6 separate regions of the Homo sapiens genome follow, and regions 1, 2, 3, 5 and 6 are each linked to region 4. The links are contacts of gene promoters, found by promoter capture Hi-C in blood cells and fetal thymus (Javierre and others, 2016). All regions are on one chromosome and are shown on one strand. The core of a region is centred on a gene start or on the middle of the fragment in contact, and the rest is flanking DNA. Distances in the headings are between cores, read along the strand shown. Region 1 holds the start of ASB16-AS1 (ASB16 antisense RNA 1). Region 2 overlaps HDAC5 (histone deacetylase 5). Region 3 overlaps ATXN7L3-AS1 (ATXN7L3 antisense RNA 1). Region 4 holds the start of FAM171A2 (family with sequence similarity 171 member A2). Region 5 overlaps HROB (homologous recombination factor with OB-fold). Region 6 holds the start of ASB16 (ankyrin repeat and SOCS box containing 16).

The links. Contacts are between HindIII fragments. The CHiCAGO score rates a contact against its expected background, and 5 or more counts as called.
Region 1: a contact is called between the fragment with the promoter of ASB16-AS1 here and the fragment with the promoter of FAM171A2 in region 4, in 1 of 17 cell types (neutrophils). The highest score is 5.9, in neutrophils.
Region 2: a fragment that was not itself captured here is called in contact with the fragment with the promoter of FAM171A2 in region 4 in 1 of 17 cell types (neutrophils); the score reaches 5.8 in neutrophils.
Region 3: a contact is called between a fragment that was not itself captured here and the fragment with the promoter of FAM171A2 in region 4, in 12 of 17 cell types (erythroblasts, megakaryocytes, monocytes and 9 more). The highest score is 12.0, in erythroblasts.
Region 5: a contact is called between a fragment that was not itself captured here and the fragment with the promoter of FAM171A2 in region 4, in 2 of 17 cell types (neutrophils and erythroblasts). The highest score is 7.7, in neutrophils.
Region 6: a contact is called between the fragment with the promoter of ASB16 here and the fragment with the promoter of FAM171A2 in region 4, in 1 of 17 cell types (neutrophils). The highest score is 5.5, in neutrophils.

Annotation. Positions count from the first base shown.
Region 1 is chr17:44,185,350-44,188,049 of GRCh38, reverse strand. ASB16-AS1 (ASB16 antisense RNA 1) reads left to right here and starts at 1,333. Exons shown (of 3, transcript NR_049730.1): 1 at 1,333-1,485. It overlaps TMUB2 (transmembrane and ubiquitin like domain containing 2), which reads right to left and starts at 1,078. Exons shown (of 4, transcript NM_001076674.3): 1 at 941-1,078; 2 at 307-374. The coding sequence starts at 341. RefSeq lists an enhancer at 1,220-1,754. The HindIII fragment of the contact is 11,845 bases long and covers 1-2,700 here.
Region 2 is chr17:44,110,874-44,113,573 of GRCh38, reverse strand. All of the region lies in intron 2 of HDAC5 (histone deacetylase 5), which reads left to right. Among named protein-coding and RNA genes, the nearest start is that of HDAC5, 11 kb to the left of the region's middle. RefSeq lists an enhancer at 1,060-1,560. The HindIII fragment of the contact is 4,795 bases long and covers 1-2,700 here.
Region 3 is chr17:44,201,763-44,204,462 of GRCh38, reverse strand. The region is part of intron 1 of ATXN7L3-AS1 (ATXN7L3 antisense RNA 1); the gene reads right to left. Among named protein-coding and RNA genes, the nearest start is that of ATXN7L3, 3.2 kb to the right of the region's middle. The HindIII fragment of the contact is 2,500 bases long and covers 61-2,560 here.
Region 4 is chr17:44,362,464-44,365,163 of GRCh38, reverse strand. FAM171A2 (family with sequence similarity 171 member A2) reads left to right here and starts at 1,311. Exons shown (of 8, transcript NM_198475.3): 1 at 1,311-1,567. The coding sequence starts at 1,450. It also overlaps the pseudogene RPL7L1P5. RefSeq lists a silencer at 1,220-1,599. The HindIII fragment of the contact is 8,364 bases long and covers 1-2,700 here.
Region 5 is chr17:44,153,231-44,155,930 of GRCh38, reverse strand. It overlaps HROB (homologous recombination factor with OB-fold), which reads right to left. Exons shown (of 10, transcript NM_001171251.3): 6 at 1,267-1,375; 7 at 993-1,078; 8 at 520-645. Among named protein-coding and RNA genes, the nearest start is that of HROB, 13 kb to the right of the region's middle. The HindIII fragment of the contact is 7,387 bases long and covers 1-2,700 here.
Region 6 is chr17:44,169,283-44,171,982 of GRCh38, reverse strand. It overlaps ASB16 (ankyrin repeat and SOCS box containing 16), which reads right to left and starts at 1,279. Exons shown (of 5, transcript NM_080863.5): 1 at 893-1,279. The coding sequence starts at 1,193. The HindIII fragment of the contact is 23,995 bases long and covers 1-2,700 here.

The DNA of each region.
Region 1 (2,700 bases), core at 84-2,583, 180 kb after region 4:
ATTCTCACAGCACCTATAAAACTTCATTATACTTATGTACCTGTCCATCTTTCTATTAGACTCCTGGTAGACAAGGATCGTATGTATTTCTCTTGGTACTGAAGTGTCCAATATAATGCCCCAGTAGTTGCTCAAAGAATTATCTGTGGAACACATCAACATCCTTATTTAATATACCGGCCCTGGAGTTAGAAAAACAACTAATTATAACCCCAGTCTTGCGTCTTACTAGCTATAACACCTCAGACAACTTTCTCAGAGCCTCAGCTTTCTCATCAGTAAAATGGGGTTAAAAACAGTACCTACCTCATGAGGTTGTTTTGAAGATGACGTGAAATCATCGAAGCAAAATACTTGGCACAGTGCCTGGCACACTGCAAATTGCAATTGCTTAATAACGGTAGTAATTATTTATCACAACCACAACTAACCCCTGATGGTAAGAAGGTTAATGTTATTAACCATGATTTACAGGAAAAGAAACTGCGGCAAAGAAAGACGAAAACGATTGGCACAGACACAGGGAACTCTCGTGGGGAGGGGCCCGGCAGGACCCCAGGTGTCCGGCCTCAGGGGTCTTTGCTCTGTCCCTCAGCCTGTGATCTACCCTGTCCGTACCGTGACCGCACGGTGAGGAGGGGTCCCGCACCCTTTTTCTGAGGCGAAGGTTCCGCTTTTGGATGGTCCTATTCCCTCGGCGTTGGACTGGGGTCCATGGGCCCACCCGAACCGAAGGGCTGCCTGGCCCCAGCCTCCGTGATAAGACCAGTTGTCCCGGCCAGTGAGGAGTAGGGTCGGCTAAGGGGGTCACAAACCGTCCACACCCCTCAAACTTCGGGGCGGGGCTGGGGAACTGGGGGCGGGGCTTCAGGACGCGAGGAGTCATGGGAAATTAAAGGGGGATTGGACCGGCACTGTGCCTGGATGGGGAAGTCCTCACCTGAAAAGACCAGACTAAATGTTTTGACCTCGCCAGGACGGCCCCTGGACTCGTCTTTCCGTAGGGGTCGGGAAAAGGGCTGGCAATCTGCGATTCTGTTCAGGGTCCGGTCTCTTCCGGCTTCTCCCGGAAGCTGTTATACCAGGGACAGGAAGTCCCGCCTCCGCGCCTTGCACTGATGACGCGAAGCTGCGTAAGACGGGCTGACGTAAAAGGTATTCTTTAAATAAAAGGGACAGGTTTCTCAGCGGAAGGAGGGGTGGAGTCATTGTTGGCGGGATTGCGGCCCTCCCAGAGCGGGGCCACGCCTGGTGGGCGGGGCCTTAGGCAATCCAGGGTGAGAGGCGGGGCCAGGGGGGAGGAGTTAGCGCGGAGGTACTTGGGAAAGGGGCGTGGCTTCGCGACTGCGGAAGGTTGCCCGGGCTGGCGCCGCTGGGCAGAGCCGGTGCGACGTTTCCCTTTCCAGCTTTGTTCTTCCGGCCCTGCTGTCTGCCTCCCCGGCTGATTGGATTCGTTACTGCTTTGCAACGCGCACCTAACTCCAGGTTAGCGGGGATTAGTAAGAACTCAGCTCTGGGCCAGTCGGGAAGACAGATAAGGAGACCAGTTAGTCAGCATCCAGTGCTTGAAGAGTGCGGCCCCAGGTAGTGTGGGACCCGGAGAAAGAAGGCGGGAAAGCATTTCAAAGAAGGCACAGATTCGGCGCAGGCTTAGGACACAAAAAGGGGGAAAAGTCCAGCTTTCAAGAACTTATCCAGATTTTTGCAGTTAAAATTTTTTCTTTTTTGAGACGGGAGTTCCGCTCTTGTTGCCCAGGCTGGAGTGCAATGGCGCGATCTCGGCTCACTGCAACCTCCGCCCCCCCGGGTTCAAGCGATTCTTTTGCCTCAGCCTGCCGAGTAGCTGGGATTACAGGCATGCGCCACCACGCCCCGCTAATTTTGTATTTTAGTAGAGACAGGGTTTCTCCATGTTGGTCAGGCTGGTCTCGAACTCCCGACCTCAGGTGATCCGCCCCCGTCTCGGCCTCCCAAAGTGCTGGCATTACAGGCGTGAGCTACCGCGCTCGGCCGCAATTAAAATTTTTTCTAAAAACTTACTGTGGCCGGGGGGAGTGGCTTACTCTTGTAATCCCACCGCTTTGGGAGGCAGAGGTGGGAGGATCGCTTGAGCTCAGGAGTTCGAGGCTGCAGTGAGCTATGATCTGAGCCACTGCATTGCACCCGACAGGGAGGCCTTGTCTCCAAAAAAAAAAAAAAAAGCGCTGGAGTTTGGGGTTTTGGAGAACTACTGATTAAAGGATAAATAATCCAGACAGGGGCAAACATAAGCAAAAAGCTCGGTGGCTTCTACCAACTGAACACTGGCAGAAGTAGCACTTAGATCAAGAAATAGATAATTAGGACTGGCGCGGTGGCTCACGCCTGTAATCCCAACACGTTAGGAGGCTAAGGCAGGCGGATCACAAGGTCAGGAGTTCAAGACCAGCCTGGGTAACATGGTGAAATCCCGTCTCTACTAAAAATACAAAAATTAGCCGGGCGTGGTGGCGCACGCCTGTAATCCTGGCTACTCAGAAGGCTGAGGCAGGAGAATGGCTTGAACCTGGGAGGCGGAGGTTGCAGTGAGCTGAGATGGAGCCACTGCACGCCAGCTGGGGTGACAGAGCGAGACTCTGTCTCAGGAAAAAAAAAAAAAAGAAAGAATTACCCCAGAATCTCCCCCTTCATGTCTTCTTCTAGCCATTAACCTCCAAAGAG
Region 2 (2,700 bases), core at 191-2,690, 250 kb after region 4:
AAAAGAGAAGTGAATTGCAAGGAGGGGGGCTAAAGCATGAAGGATTGAAGTTAGACATTAGGAGGACCTTGTATCACCTGAATCTCAGAAGAAAAAAAGACATTTGTCCCCATCCCAGATCTCCTCTCTTATTGCCTTGGAGGGTTCTGGGAATTGCACTGAGGATTTTCTGACTGTGTCTGATACTTTGCTTCCTACTTGTTGGAGGCTGTAATGGTGCTGGGAGCTGGCTCCCCAGCTCCCGGCTCCAGCCACCTCTGGGTGTCCCTGTCCTGGGTGCTACTATCTTCCCTAAGCAGGAAGTCCTGTTTCCTTCAATGTCTGGGTGCTCCAGGTTCTGGGGGCCCTGCTTTTGAGTCCTGGTAACTGACGCCTTCCTCTTCTTTAGAATAAGGCTCTCCTGCCACACTCTCCTATGCCTGGGGCAGGCAGAGAGAGCTGGGACAGGGCTAGCCAGCCCTTCTGGTTACTCCTAGCGTGGGTGGGAGGAGTCCTGGGCTGGGAGGGGTTGCTGCTCTTGGCTTTCTGGGCTCCCTTGAATCTGCTGCCCATCACCCCACTGATGGAGACCTTCCCTTCCCTTCCTCTTGAGAGGGCCTGGTTGGCCAGGATGAGGTTGGGGCAAGGGGTGGTGAACAAGATCCCCAGCCATACCCTGAATGTCCACCAGCACTAGGCCTCTGAGGGAGTACTGTTCCACTGCCCTTTTTCTAGAATCTGCCCTGGTTTAGAAGCTGCAGCTCCAGACCCCTGTTTCTTTGCTGGTCCACCACTGGGTACCCCCTGGCAACATATACATCTTGCTAGTCAAGGGCCTGGGAAAGCCTGCCTCTGCCTATAGGTGTGGTCCCCCTAATCCTCCCACTCCCAGCCTGAGGGCAGGAGACCCCTTTGCCATCCCTGACTGGCAGAAGCTGGCTGGGAAATTGGGCTCCAGGAGCCACAGCCACTGTGTCCTTGGTTGGCCAGCTTCTCCTGGGCTCCCAACAAGAGGGTGAGGTCATCCAGTCCAGAGAGAGGACAGGTGTCCCTGGCTCCATGCCTGGAGTGGGGGTCAAGGAGGGGGCTCCAAAATAGCAACTGTGACATCAGGAAGGGGGAGGGGGATATAGACACAGGAATAACCAGGCTATTAAAAGGCTCTAGTGAGGTCAGGGGGCCAAGTGGGATCTTTGTACCAGTGGGAGGCACAACCTGAGGAGCAGGGGCAGGCCAGCGGTGGGGAGGGCGGGGGAGTGCCACTGGTCCTCATGGTGCACCAGCCCCAGGACCCAGGGAGCAGGGGCTGTGCTGCCAGGCCTGAGGCTGGCTGGTGGGTAATGGCTGGATGCTGAAAAACTCTTGACTCTCCTTAGCGAGGTTCCAACCTCAAGTCTCTTCCTACTTGAGCACAGGGGTCATTGTACCTGTTAATAGAAACCCTGGGAAATGGGAGGCAGTGGAGTGTGGTGGTTAGAGCTCAGACTTGAGCCTCAGACATCCCAGCCCTGCCATGTAAGCAGCTTTATGACCTAGGGTGAGTGACTTCATCTCCCTGTGCCTCAGTTTTCCCATCTGTGCCTCTCCCAAGGTCACCACGCAGAATTAATGAGATGATGTATATGATGTTCGTAGCACTGCACCTGGCACATTGCCATGGAGGAGCTACCTGTGCTCTGAGAATTAGCAGATGTTCCCTGGTCCCTTTTCCTGGATTGGGGTGAGGAAAGGGGACCAGGGGACACCTGTCTGCCCAGGAGGAGTATCCCTACACCCTAGAAAGAAGCTGAGGCTGAGCAGCCTCTGGAGGCGACACTCCAGAATGAGCGGGAGGGAGCTGCCATTTAGCAGGTGTTTAGGGGTCTCTCTGCTGGTTGAAGGGGTGGGGAGGCACCTCTCAACTCTGTGGGAGGGCAGAAGTTAAGCAAACCTCCATGGGGCTATTAGAACTCCAGGGAAGGTGCCTGTGTGCCAGCCTCTCCTAGACCCTTCCAATTCCTTTACCTGTTCTGGAAGGCAAGAAGAAAGACGGAGGCTTGAGTCTGGCTTCTTGGTCTCCATCCCCTGGCTTGCTTGCCAAGAGTAGCAGCCAGAGCCGCTCCCAGATGCATGGGTACCCTGGCCGGCGCCCTTCCCCAGCCCAGCCTCTGGCCACCCAGCGCTGTGGCCTTGGCCCTGAGTGCAGGCCCTCCCCTGTTCCCATCCCCCTCGCCTGGCGCTTCCTCCTGGGGTAGAACCGCCTCCCCCCCCATGGGGCCTCCTGGCAGCCCGCCCGCAGCTCCCTGAGCATGCTCCACCTATTTATAGACAGGGCCCTCCCCCAACTGCTATTTCAGTCTCCTGCCAGCTGCCGGCGGCGGCTCATTCGGGAAGGAGGAGCAGGGAGCCGGGCCCAGAGCTGTCACCCAGGGTTGGGAGGGAACACAGAGCCCGCCTGCCCGCTGAGCTCCCCTTCCTGTCCCAAGTGCTCAGCCATACCCCAGCTCCCAGGAACCAGGGAGAGGCTGGTGGTCGGATGCCCCTCTAGAGCAGAGCTGGGCCTGCAGCTCTAGGGCCTCCCTGCCCCTCCTGCCGCCAGGAGTGCCCAGGCCGGATGAGGCACTTCCCTACAGTGTGGGTCCCGTCGGCAGTGGCCTGAGGGAACCTGTGCTGTGCGGGCTGCCCGACCACCTTCCCTTCGGTCTGCTCCCCGCCTCTGGCGGCCCCCTCCCTGGCATGCTG
Region 3 (2,700 bases), core at 61-2,560, 160 kb after region 4:
TCGGAGAACTCTCTCCCAGCCCTTGCCCCTATCCTATAGTGGCCAAACTGCTAAAAAGCTTGTTGTGCCTCTTGGCCTCCCACTTACCACCATCCTTTGAGGTTCCTTGCTAAGGTCACCAACATGTTCATTACATCTGGTGAACACTTGTCTTGTCTTTTGCCTTCTTGGTCTACTCTGTTGGTGTCAGCTCTTCCTCATTTTATCCCAGGTGTTCATGTCTCTCCCTTCAACCTCCCATTATCACGCATATGCAACCATTCCGAAAGGTGGTGCCGACAGAGACTGCTCTTCCAAGCTGCAGACCTGTGTAGACACCCTTGCATCCCCTGGGATATCTTGCAGACATCTCATACCTCAAGACCCGAAATGATTACCAAACACTTAGTCGTTCAACCTAGAAAGCAGAGTATTGGCCTTGACTCCTCTCTCCCTTTCACCTCGAGGTTCAATCACCTAGACCTCTCCATTCCACTTCCTAAAGCTGTCTCAAATCTGTCGACCCCTCCCACAGGGTGGCTCCCACAGCTGCCACTCCCATCCTATTTCAGGCCACCATCATTGCTCAACTTCTGCAAAGACCTCCTAAAGCTGGTCTTCCTGCTTCCACTCTCGCCCCCTACAGCCCATTCTTCACATGGCAGCCAAAATTATCTCAGAAATAAATCTGATTATTTCTGTACTGAAAATTTACCATGTCTTACCATGGCCCTACAAGGCTTGGCCCCCGCATTCCTTCTCTTATCTTCTCTCACCCTGCTCTTCCTAACCACTTACAACGATCCAACCAAGTGATCTCTTCTGTTCCTCAAACATGCCTACCTGCGGGGTCTTGGCACCTGTTCTCTCTGCCTAGAATGGCTATTCCTCCAACTCTACACATACCTGATTTTTTTTTTTCATTCTTTAAGCCTCAACTCACATGTCCTCTCACAGAGAAGCCTTTCCCAACCACCTGCTCTAGAGAGGCCTCCTCCATCTTCTTGTTTATGTATTTGTTTATTATCTATCTCCCCAAGTAGAAGACACCTTATCTGCTTGTTCATTACAGTAATCTCAGCACCTGAAACTGCCTGATATACATTTGACAATCAAGAAAGATTTGCTGAGTGGGTGAATAGGTCTGGCCCACAAGGCCCTTGGGGATCTGCTGCCCCCGTTAGCCCTCCCCCGACTCTAGCCACACTGACCATTCATGTCTCGAACATAACATGCTCTCTCCTAGGGCCTATACACATGGTGTTCTCTCTGCCTAGTTAATTCTGGTCTCCACTTAAAAGACCACTTCCTTCCCTGAACTCCTGAGAAAAAAGGTCTCCACACTATACGTTTCTTCAGCAGCCTGAATGCCTTCACACTCAGGCCTTATTTCCTTCACATCAGGCCTTGCTAGGCTGTAAGCTGCGCTAGGACAAGGTTTGTGTGTCTCTCTTGCTTGTTGCTGTAACCCCAGGGCCTCACCCAGAGTCAGGACCAGCTCAGGCCTTAGTGTTTATGAACTGGTGCTAACTGTGGAGACTGGGCACGTGCCCAAAGAGGTCACCACCACAGAGCAGCCCAGGCCAAGCACAGAATGAATAGTACAGTCTAGTTGTAAAGAAGTTTGGTATGAGGATGGCCATGGGTGGGGATATGAGGAAGGATTTAGGTAAACAGGGAGAAGCCAGGAGGATTTTCTGGCCATGGCGCAAATTCCTTAGGGCAGAATGTACTGGGCATATTTAGGTAAGAAACAGATCAGCATCACTGGAGTGAAGAATTCCTGAAAAGGAGGCGGGAGATAAGAGAAAACAAAGGTTGAGGCGATGTTGTTGAAGTTCCTGAAGACCTAGCTTACTTCTCTGTGCCAGACCTGAGTTCAACCACCTTTTGGGTCTCCATCAGCTGATCCCACAGTAACCTCAATATATCCCAGACTGAAGTCATCCTGTGTCCTCCCATGTCCTCCCCTGAGTTCCCCATCCTAGTAAAGGTGTTTTCAAGACCTCCCTCTCCTTTCCTCCACACACCTCAATCAGTAACAAAAACCTACTGCTTTTGCCAGGCCCAGTGGTTTATGCCTGTAATCCCAGCATTTGGGAGGCTGAGGCAGGCGGATCTCCTGAGGTCAGAAGTTCGAGACCAGCCTGGCCAACATGGTGCAACCCTGTCTGTACTAAAAATACAAAACTAAAATTAGCCGAGCGTGGTGGCGTGCGCCAGTAATCCCAGCTATTCAGGAGGCTGAGGCATGAGAATCACTTGAACCCGGGACGCAGAAGTTGCCGTGAGCTGAGATTGCACCTGAGTGACAGAGCAAAATGCTGTCTAAAAAAACAAAACAAAACAAAACAAAAAACCTACTGCTTCTAAATTATTCTCCAGACCATACTCCAGCATGATCCACTAAAAATATAAGTCTGGTGAATGATTCCCCTTGAGGACTCCTCACAGCTTACAGGCTAAAGCCCACAAACTTTTCAACACCTACTTTGCTTTGTCCTGTATTATCCAGCCTGCTCACCTCCTGCTGCTCTGCCACCCACTCCTCTGTTCCAGCTTGATCCATGCTTCTGAAGCTTCCAGTTGGGGATGTCCAATGCCTTCTTGGCCTACCTTCACCTGGTTCATCTCCCTCTATAAGAAGTTTTTCTTTTTCTTCTTTTTTGTTTTGTTTTGAGACGGAGTCTCGCTCAGTTGCCCAGGCTGGAGTGCAGTGGC
Region 4 (2,700 bases), core at 62-2,561:
CATTTCCAGGAGGTCTCATGGTTGTTACGCCCTTTCTACCTCTCAGTGGCCCGTCATGCTACCAAAAATACAGTGGGCTTCCTCAAGGAGATGGGCACACCTGGCTATCAGGGTGAACGCATCAGTCAGCTCATCCGCCAGCTGAACTAGACCCAGGTGCCAAACTGCAGTAAATTTTTATTAATGAAGTGGAAGCATGGGTAGTAGAAGCATGTGTTTTTGTTTTTTTGGGAATTTTTATCAAGTATCTTCAGAGAAGATTATTTCCAGCTTTATCTTCAAAAACTGGAAAGGAAGGGTCAAAGAAAAGACAGAAGCTCACGCCTGTAATCCCAGCACTTTGGGAGGCCGAGGCGGGTAGATCACTTGAGATCAGGAGTTCGAGACCAGCCTGGCCAACATAGTGAAACGCTGTCTCTACTAAAAATACAAAAATTAGCCGGGCATGGTGGCGTGCACCTGTAGTCCCAGCTACTTGGGAGGCTGAGGCAGGAGAATCACTTGAACCCGGGAGGCAGAGGTTGCAGTGAGCCAAGATCACGCCACTGCACTCCAGCCTGGGCAACAGAGCAAGACTCTCTCTCAAAAAAAAAAAAAAAAAAAAAAAGAAGGAGAAGAAACAGTAGCTTATGTTCATGGCAAGCACCTCTAATCACAGTCCAGTTTCCAAGGAAAAATTCCAGCGTTTTAGTTTAATGTCGGTAAGTGAGTAACTCTAGCATTTGTACAAGGCTCCCTAAGACTCCTGCACCAGTCGGCCAAGCCCAGGGACATAATTGAATTTGGAGATTCTTGGGGCCTTGTTTTGAAAAAGACTTGAAATAGGAAGAAAGGCCCAAAAATAAATGTTCACTTGTCTCTGAAAAAAAAAAATCTGTCTCAAAAAAAAAAAAAAGAGAGACTTAGGGGGGTCTAGGGGGCCTTCCCTGCTATCACCCCAGCACTGCCTAGGTGTTCTACCGGGAGAAGGGGGCCATCGAGCAGGGAGTTCTTACAGTTTTCTGAGACTTTCATGACCGTACCCCTTGAGAGTGTTGTAGGCAATATCCACTCCCCACCTACACACACACAAATTTTGCACCAAATTTTGGGGACTCTCGAAACCCAAGAACCCGGGTGATGGGACCCTAATCCCGACACTCCTTTGCAGCGCAGAGTCTGGGAGCGCAGAGCGCGGGGGCTGCGGGGTGGGCTGAAGGTGGGCAGTACCGGGGGGCGGCGGGCGGAGCGGGGCCGGGAGGGGGCGGTGCCGGAGGGCCAGCGGTGTGGCGCGCCGCCTGCAGGGGGCGCTTGCGGCGGCTCCGGTCGGAGACAATCGCGCTGAGCGGGCGCCGCAGCGGGAGCGGGAGCCGGAGCTGCGAGGCGCGGCGCAGAGCTGGGGCTGCGCGGGGCCGGGCGAGCGGGACCAGGCGGGAGCCATGGACCGCTAGGGCCCGGCCTAGCCCCGCGATGCCGCCGGCGAGTGGCCCCAGCGTCCTCGCGCGGCTGTTGCCGCTGCTGGGGCTGCTGCTCGGCAGCGCCTCCCGGGCTCCCGGCAAGTCGCCGCCGGAGCCCCCCAGCCCGCAGGGTGAGTCTCAGCCGGGAGGGGCCGCGATCGCGGGCCTGCGCCCCCTGATCAGGCTCCCGCCCGTCAGCCCCCTCTTCGCGGCGTTCGTGAATTGAGTGGTATTCTGTTCCCTGGATTCGGGTGGGGGGAGCTAAGCGATCTGGGGTTGGCGCTTCTGGGGGAAAGTGGAGGCGGGGAGAGGGAGGCCGTCCGGGGCGGGGGTCTTGGGGAGACACAATGGGTAGTGCGAGGGTCCCCAGGATCTGCGCCGCCGCCCTCTCCCTATTTGTTTTTCTCCCTCCTGGTCCGCGAGGCGCTGCTGCCTGAGCCATTGTCTACCGAAGACACCCGCCCAGGGGCGGGCTGGGGCGGGCGCCTGCTCCGCAGCCCCCTGCGGGTTGCTCGCTCCCGACCCTGGCGGGGTGGGGGCGCCGGCATCCGCTGCCACCCTAGGCCGGGACCGGAGGCTGGGAGCCTGGAGCTGGGTTTGAAGGGGGGAGGGGAGAAGGGGGAGTGGGTGAGGCTGTGGGCGGGATTGACTGCTCTAATGGGGTTCTTTGCCCTGGAGCCTGACAGCTCCCAGCCAGCCCCCCTGGTTTAGAGTTTGGGGTGCACCAAATAAATGCTTGTGAGCCTATGATGGAGGACGAGCCGCAGTTGTGGGCCTCTAAGAAAAGGGGGTACATTGTGATTCCCAGCTGAGGGAGCATGGCAGGCTTGTGGTCGTGGAGCCATGCTGAGCTAGCTGGCTGTGGGCAGTGCCGGCTGGGAGGGCAGGTGCCTGGGTCCCCCCCCATTCAGCAGGCCTCCTGGCATTCCTGTCCCCTGCCCGCCCCCATATCACCCCCTCCTCATCTCACATCTTCGCAGTGGAGGAGACCCTTCCCAGCGACTCACCGGGCGCAGGTGGGTGTGTGAGGTGGGGGTGGGGCCGGCTCCTGCAGCAGGAAAGGGTGGGGGAGCAAGACCCTGACAACACATCCCACAGGCAGGCCTGGACGCTTGGGGGCCTCCGCCCACTCCAGTCCTGAGTCCACCTCCCGGGTCCTGCTCTCCCTCTCCTGCCTGTGGGCCCCATCCCTGCCTGAAGCAGTATTCACTCCTCACCCCCCACACTAAGGAGCTGGCAGGAAAAGCAGAGTGGGGGGGTCTGG
Region 5 (2,700 bases), core at 64-2,563, 210 kb after region 4:
TTACCTCCCATAAATGCCAAATGCTCGTCTCGGTTCCTAAAGAGGATGTCCCCACCAGTGCTCTGTGCAGCTTCCCCCTAATTTAGCAGAGGCAGATGCCAAGAGGGAAGACACAGAGCAGGTGCTGGCTCACCTGACAGGCCATTTGTAGCTCACTGTTCTCCACACTGCCACCTGTAGCAGATCTGACCCTCGGTCATTTACTGCCACCACCCCCTGGTGGGCCCTCCACTTGGTTAGTTCTCAAGTGACTCCTATCCTCTCAGATGTTCAAGCCTGCCATCAGATGCTCAGGGATCACCAAGAAGCCAGCTGCTCCTCTAGGTACTGTTACTGAGCCATCTGCCAGGCGGCTGGATGAGGGATAGGAGATGGTCCTGTCCCCAAAGATACCTTTTCACCTCAGAGCACCTGCCCCCTTCAGACCTCTGCTCCCCAGGGTGGAAGAGAGGAAGAAATCAGAAGATCCAGGCAGAAGGAGGGCCTTACCAGTCTCCCGTTTCTTCCTGCTCCTCTTACCTTGGGGAAGGGCTGAGATGGCTTGAGGAAGCTCCCATCCCCAGAATCCGGGCTGTAAATATGGACCAGGTTGTTGGGTGTCACGTTGAGGTAGTGATTTCGAAGTGAAGGAGAAAACACTCCAATCTGGAGTCAAGGAAAGGGAAGGTCAGTGTCCTGATGGAGCACTGGGAGCTGCCAGATGGACACCTGGCTCCCACCTGCCTTTCACTTGGTGTCCTCTGCCTAGCCTTGGTGCCAGAAGAGAACCATTTGCCACAATCTCCCCTTAACACAACCCTCCATCCCTATCCACCCTGAAGAATGGGGGCCAGCTCAAGGGCCACAGGCCTTCCCTGAGCTCAAGCCAGGGCCTAGCAATGGTTCAGCCACTCCGTGCCTGGTGTTGTAGAGGAAGGCAGCCAAACAGGTAAGGAGACAGACACTGAGGGCTCTATCCGGGGGGCAGTGGTGTGGAGAGCTGCTCCCCATACCTGCTTCAGCAGCAGCACTGAGCCAGGCTTCAGCTCATTCTGGCACGTCTCCAGCAGCAACCTGTGCACCGTCCCCTGCATCTCTCCTGCAAATACCACATGGCCCATCAGTCTCGGGGTCAAGGGCAGCACAGCGACTGGTATGGGCCCTGGCTGGGAAGTGGGCTGCTCACTGCCTCAGTTTTCCTGTCTGCAAAGGGAGAGGGTGATTCCACCTCATTTCCTGGCCTCAATGGAGCCCACTCACCAGACAACCTAGGACCTAATTCCTTACCCGTGGGGTCCTTGAAAACCACACTGGCGTCCATTGTGCTCCGAGTCAGGGACTTGATCATCACCGCCATGTTGGGGACCTTGTTCCTAGGAAGCTGCTTCAGGGCTGCCTGCTTACAAGGAGAGGCATATGCTGAGCCTTCCACGGCCCACTTGTGACTTCCCAGGTCTCCAAGTGTGCCAGGGCAACCGGGGTTAGGAGGGGTCAGAGTATAGTTATAGTGATGATCTTCTTTGTGGAGGACAAGGAGGTACCCCATCTCTCTCTGACAGACCTAGAGCTGGGAGGTCCTTCATTTCTCTCCCCTGCCTCCGTTCTTTTTTATTTTTTGAGAGGGAGTTTCGCTCCCAGGCTGGGTGCAATGGCACAATCTTGGCTCACTGCAACCTCCACCTTCTGGTTTCAAGCGATTCTCCTGCCTCAGGCTCCCAAGTAGCTGGGATTACAGGCGCCCACCACCACGCCCGGCTAATTTTTGTATTTTTAGTAGAGACAGGGTTTCACCATGTTGGCCAGGCTTGTCTTGAACTCCTGACCTCGTGATCCACCCACCTCGGCCTCCCAAAGTGCTGGGATTACAGGCATGAGCCACCGCACCCGGCCTATTTTTTTATTTTTGAGATGGAGTCTCGCTCTGTCGCCCAGGCTGGAGTACCATGGCACGACCTTGGCTCATTGCAACCTCCGCCTCTGGGTTCAAGCGATGCTCCAGCCTCAGCTTCCTGAGTAGCTGGACTTACAGGCGTGTGCCACCAAGCCTGGCTAATTTTTGTATTTTCAATAGAGGGGGTTTCACCATGTTGGCCAGGCTGGTCTCGAACTCCTGACCTCAAGTGATCTGCCCGCCTCAGCCTCCCAAAGTGCTGGGATTACAGGCGTGACCCACCCCGCCTGACCTGTTTGGTTTTTGTTTTTTTCTTGAGTCGGAGTTTCACTCTTATTGCCCAGGCTAGAGTGCAATGGCACATCTTGGCTCACCGCAACTTCTGCCTTCCAGGTTCAAGCAATTCTCCTGCCTCAGCCTCCTGAGTAGCTAGAATTACAGGCATGTGCCAACACGTCCGGCTAATTTTGTATTTTTAGTAGAGACAGGGTTTCTCCAGGTTGGTCAGGCTGGTCTTGAACTCGCGACCTCAGGTGATCCGCCCGCCTTGACCTCTCAAGATTATAGGTGTGAGCCACCACGCCCGGCCTTGGGTTTTTTTTAAAGGAGACAAGCTCTCGCTCTATTGCCCCGGCTGGAGGGCAGTGGCACGATCATAGTTCACTGTAGCCTCAACCTCCTAAGATCAAGTGATCCTCTGGCCTCAGCCTCCCTAGTAGCTGGGACTATAAGACATGTGCCACCACATCCAGCTGATTTTTTTTTTTTGTATTTTTTTGTAGAGACAGGGTCTCGCTTTGTTGCCCAGGCTGGTCTCGAACTCCTGACCT
Region 6 (2,700 bases), core at 30-2,529, 190 kb after region 4:
GCTGGTTCCAGCTGACAGCTGACACTGGCCTTCCCTCTGCATGGTTTGCTGAGCACAAACACTGCCAGGCTGTACCTGTGGAAGGGGGCTTATTCAAGTCCTGAAGTGGAAGAATAAATTGGAACAGCCTTTTAATACAGCTTATCAATCTGTAACAAAACATAGTATGTGTCATAAAAAAATTAATTGCTGTATAAAACCACAGGGGCCAACTAAGTAGAGTGACTCCCATTAAGGAAATCTCAGCGTCTTTGAATGGCTAATAGTGTCAAAGGCTTGTTCACCTTGGGGCCTGGGGTGGTGGCTCACACCTGTAATCCTAGCACTTTGGGAGGCCAAGGCGGGATGATCACTTGACCTCAGGAGTTCGAGATGAGCCTGGGCAACATAGTGAGACCTTGTCTCTTTTTTTTTTTTTTTTAGGCAGGGTCTCGCTCTGTCCCCCAGGCTGGAATGCAGTGGCGCTATCTTGGCTCACTGCAAGCTCCGCCTCCCGGGTTTAAGTGATTCTTCTGCCTCAGCTGCTGAGTAGCTGGGATTACAGGTGCGCACCACCATGCCCGGCTAATTTTTCTATTTTTAGTAGAGATGGGGTTTTACCATGTTGGTCAGGCTGGTCTCAAACTTCTGACTTCGTGATCCGCCTGCCTTGGCCTCCCAAAGTGCTGGGATTACAGGCGTGAGCCACTGTGCCCGGTCAACTTTTAATTCTTAAAAGACATACAGACTGCTAACCCTGCCTCATCTCTGTTTAGGAGGGAGCTAGGATAGGTGGTGGAAAGGGCTGCTATAGTCTGTGGTCTGCAGGGAAGGAGGGGCCTAGACTCTCCCCCTTCCCCACCCACTCCCCTTCTTTCTCCCTCCTCTTCTGCCCTCTTCTGGTGCCCCCTACCCTGTTCAGCCGACCAGGCCAGCTGGTTGCTCACAGTCTCCACAATCATGTTGGCGGCCTCTTCATCTTGGAACAGGGCTTGGACCTGCTGCAGGTTGCCGGAGAAGAGGGCTTGGTGGACAGCTGGGTCTCGGCAGGAACGGTGAGGCCTAGTGAGTCGGGCCCGGGGACTTGACGGGCACCTGCGGCTCCGGCACTGCTGGGCAGCCGCCCGCCGCCGGTCCTCCCATTCCAGCCACTCCTGCTGCAGGCGGAGAGAGCGCAGCATGGAGGAGGTGAAGGGGAAGGTCTCTCTTGCCATGGATGGGGCCCAGGGGTTTGGGCAGTGGCACCTGGGCAGAGCCAGGTTCCCTCGACCCGACTACCTCCCTTGCTCTGAGGAGCCACCCTGCCCCCGCCACCGTGAGCCAGAGAAAGCAGCAGCTGAGGCTATAAATAGGTCCTTTGCTGCTCTGGTAAACATGGTTTGCTCAGAGTCATGATCCTGGTGCTGAGAAGCTGCTGGCCCAACCCCCAGCCCAGGGTGAGGGCCAGCCCCTGCCCCTGCCGATACCCTTTGGTTGGTCAGCAGGCCCTCAGCTGAGGCCACCCCCGAACCCCAGCATCTGCATCCACCTTCATCTCTAGAGCGAGCATCTTGGGTTGGCAAGGTCCAGGGTGCGCAAAAAGGTCAGTCATGGAGATGGGCAGGGCTGGGAGGAAGACAAGGTGCCTCCAGCCTCTCTGATGTTGGCTGGAGGGCAGGAGCCACCATTGGCCCACGTGGAGGAGAGAGGGCTGACCTCAGCACAGGAGGTAAGGGGAGGTCAAGGCAGAGTTACTGAGAAGGTGAGCAGCTCTTCCCAGCATCTGCAGTAACAGCAATAACTCTGTACATATGCACAGAGTTTCACGGTGTTTAAATCACATTCATATCCACCTTCACCCAGGGGATCATACTTCCCAGCCCACCCAATAATTAGTAAACTTGGTTTGGACAATAAATGAAATTATCACAGTTGAATGCCCCTGAGATGGGTGGTCTTATCTCTGTTTTACAGATGAGGAATTTAAGGCTTAACAAAGTAATCTACTGGCTCAAGGTCACAGTTTGTGAGAGGCAGAGCCAGGACCCCACATAGATGGTGTGCTTTGGGCCAAGAATGGTGGCTCATGCCTGTAATCCTAGCACTTTGGGAGGCCAAGACAGGAGGATTGCTTGAGCCTAGGAGTTTGAGACAATCCTGGGCAACACAGTGAGACCTATATCTTTTTTTTTTTTTTTTTTTTTTTTGAGACAGAGTCTCACCCTGTCTCCCATGCTGGAGTGCAATGGCACGATCTTGGCTCACTGCAACCTCCGCCTCCCGGGCTCAAACGATTCTCTTGCCTCAGCCTCCTGAGTAGCTGGGATTATAGGCACCCGCCACCATGCCCAGCTAAATTTTGTATTTTTAGTAGAGATTTAATTTAGGGTTTCACCATGTTGGCCAGGCTGGTCTCGAACTCCTGACCTCGTGGTCTGCCCGCCTCGGCCTCCCAAAGTGCTAGGATTATAGGCGTGAGCCACCACCCCCTGCCTCTCCATCTCTTAAAAAAAGAAGAAAAAAAAAAAAAGATGGTACACTTTTTGCCTTCAGCTGCTGCAGCCACCTGGCAGCCTCCCCCATTCTCCAAGCAGGACAGACTAGTCTGTAGAAACTGCCTTCAATCATCCTTTTTTTTTTTTTCTCATGGTGTCACCCAGTCTGGAGTGCAGTGGGGTGATCTCGGCTCACTGAAACCTCCGTTTCCTGGGGTTCAAGTGATTCTCCTGCCTTAGCTGCCTG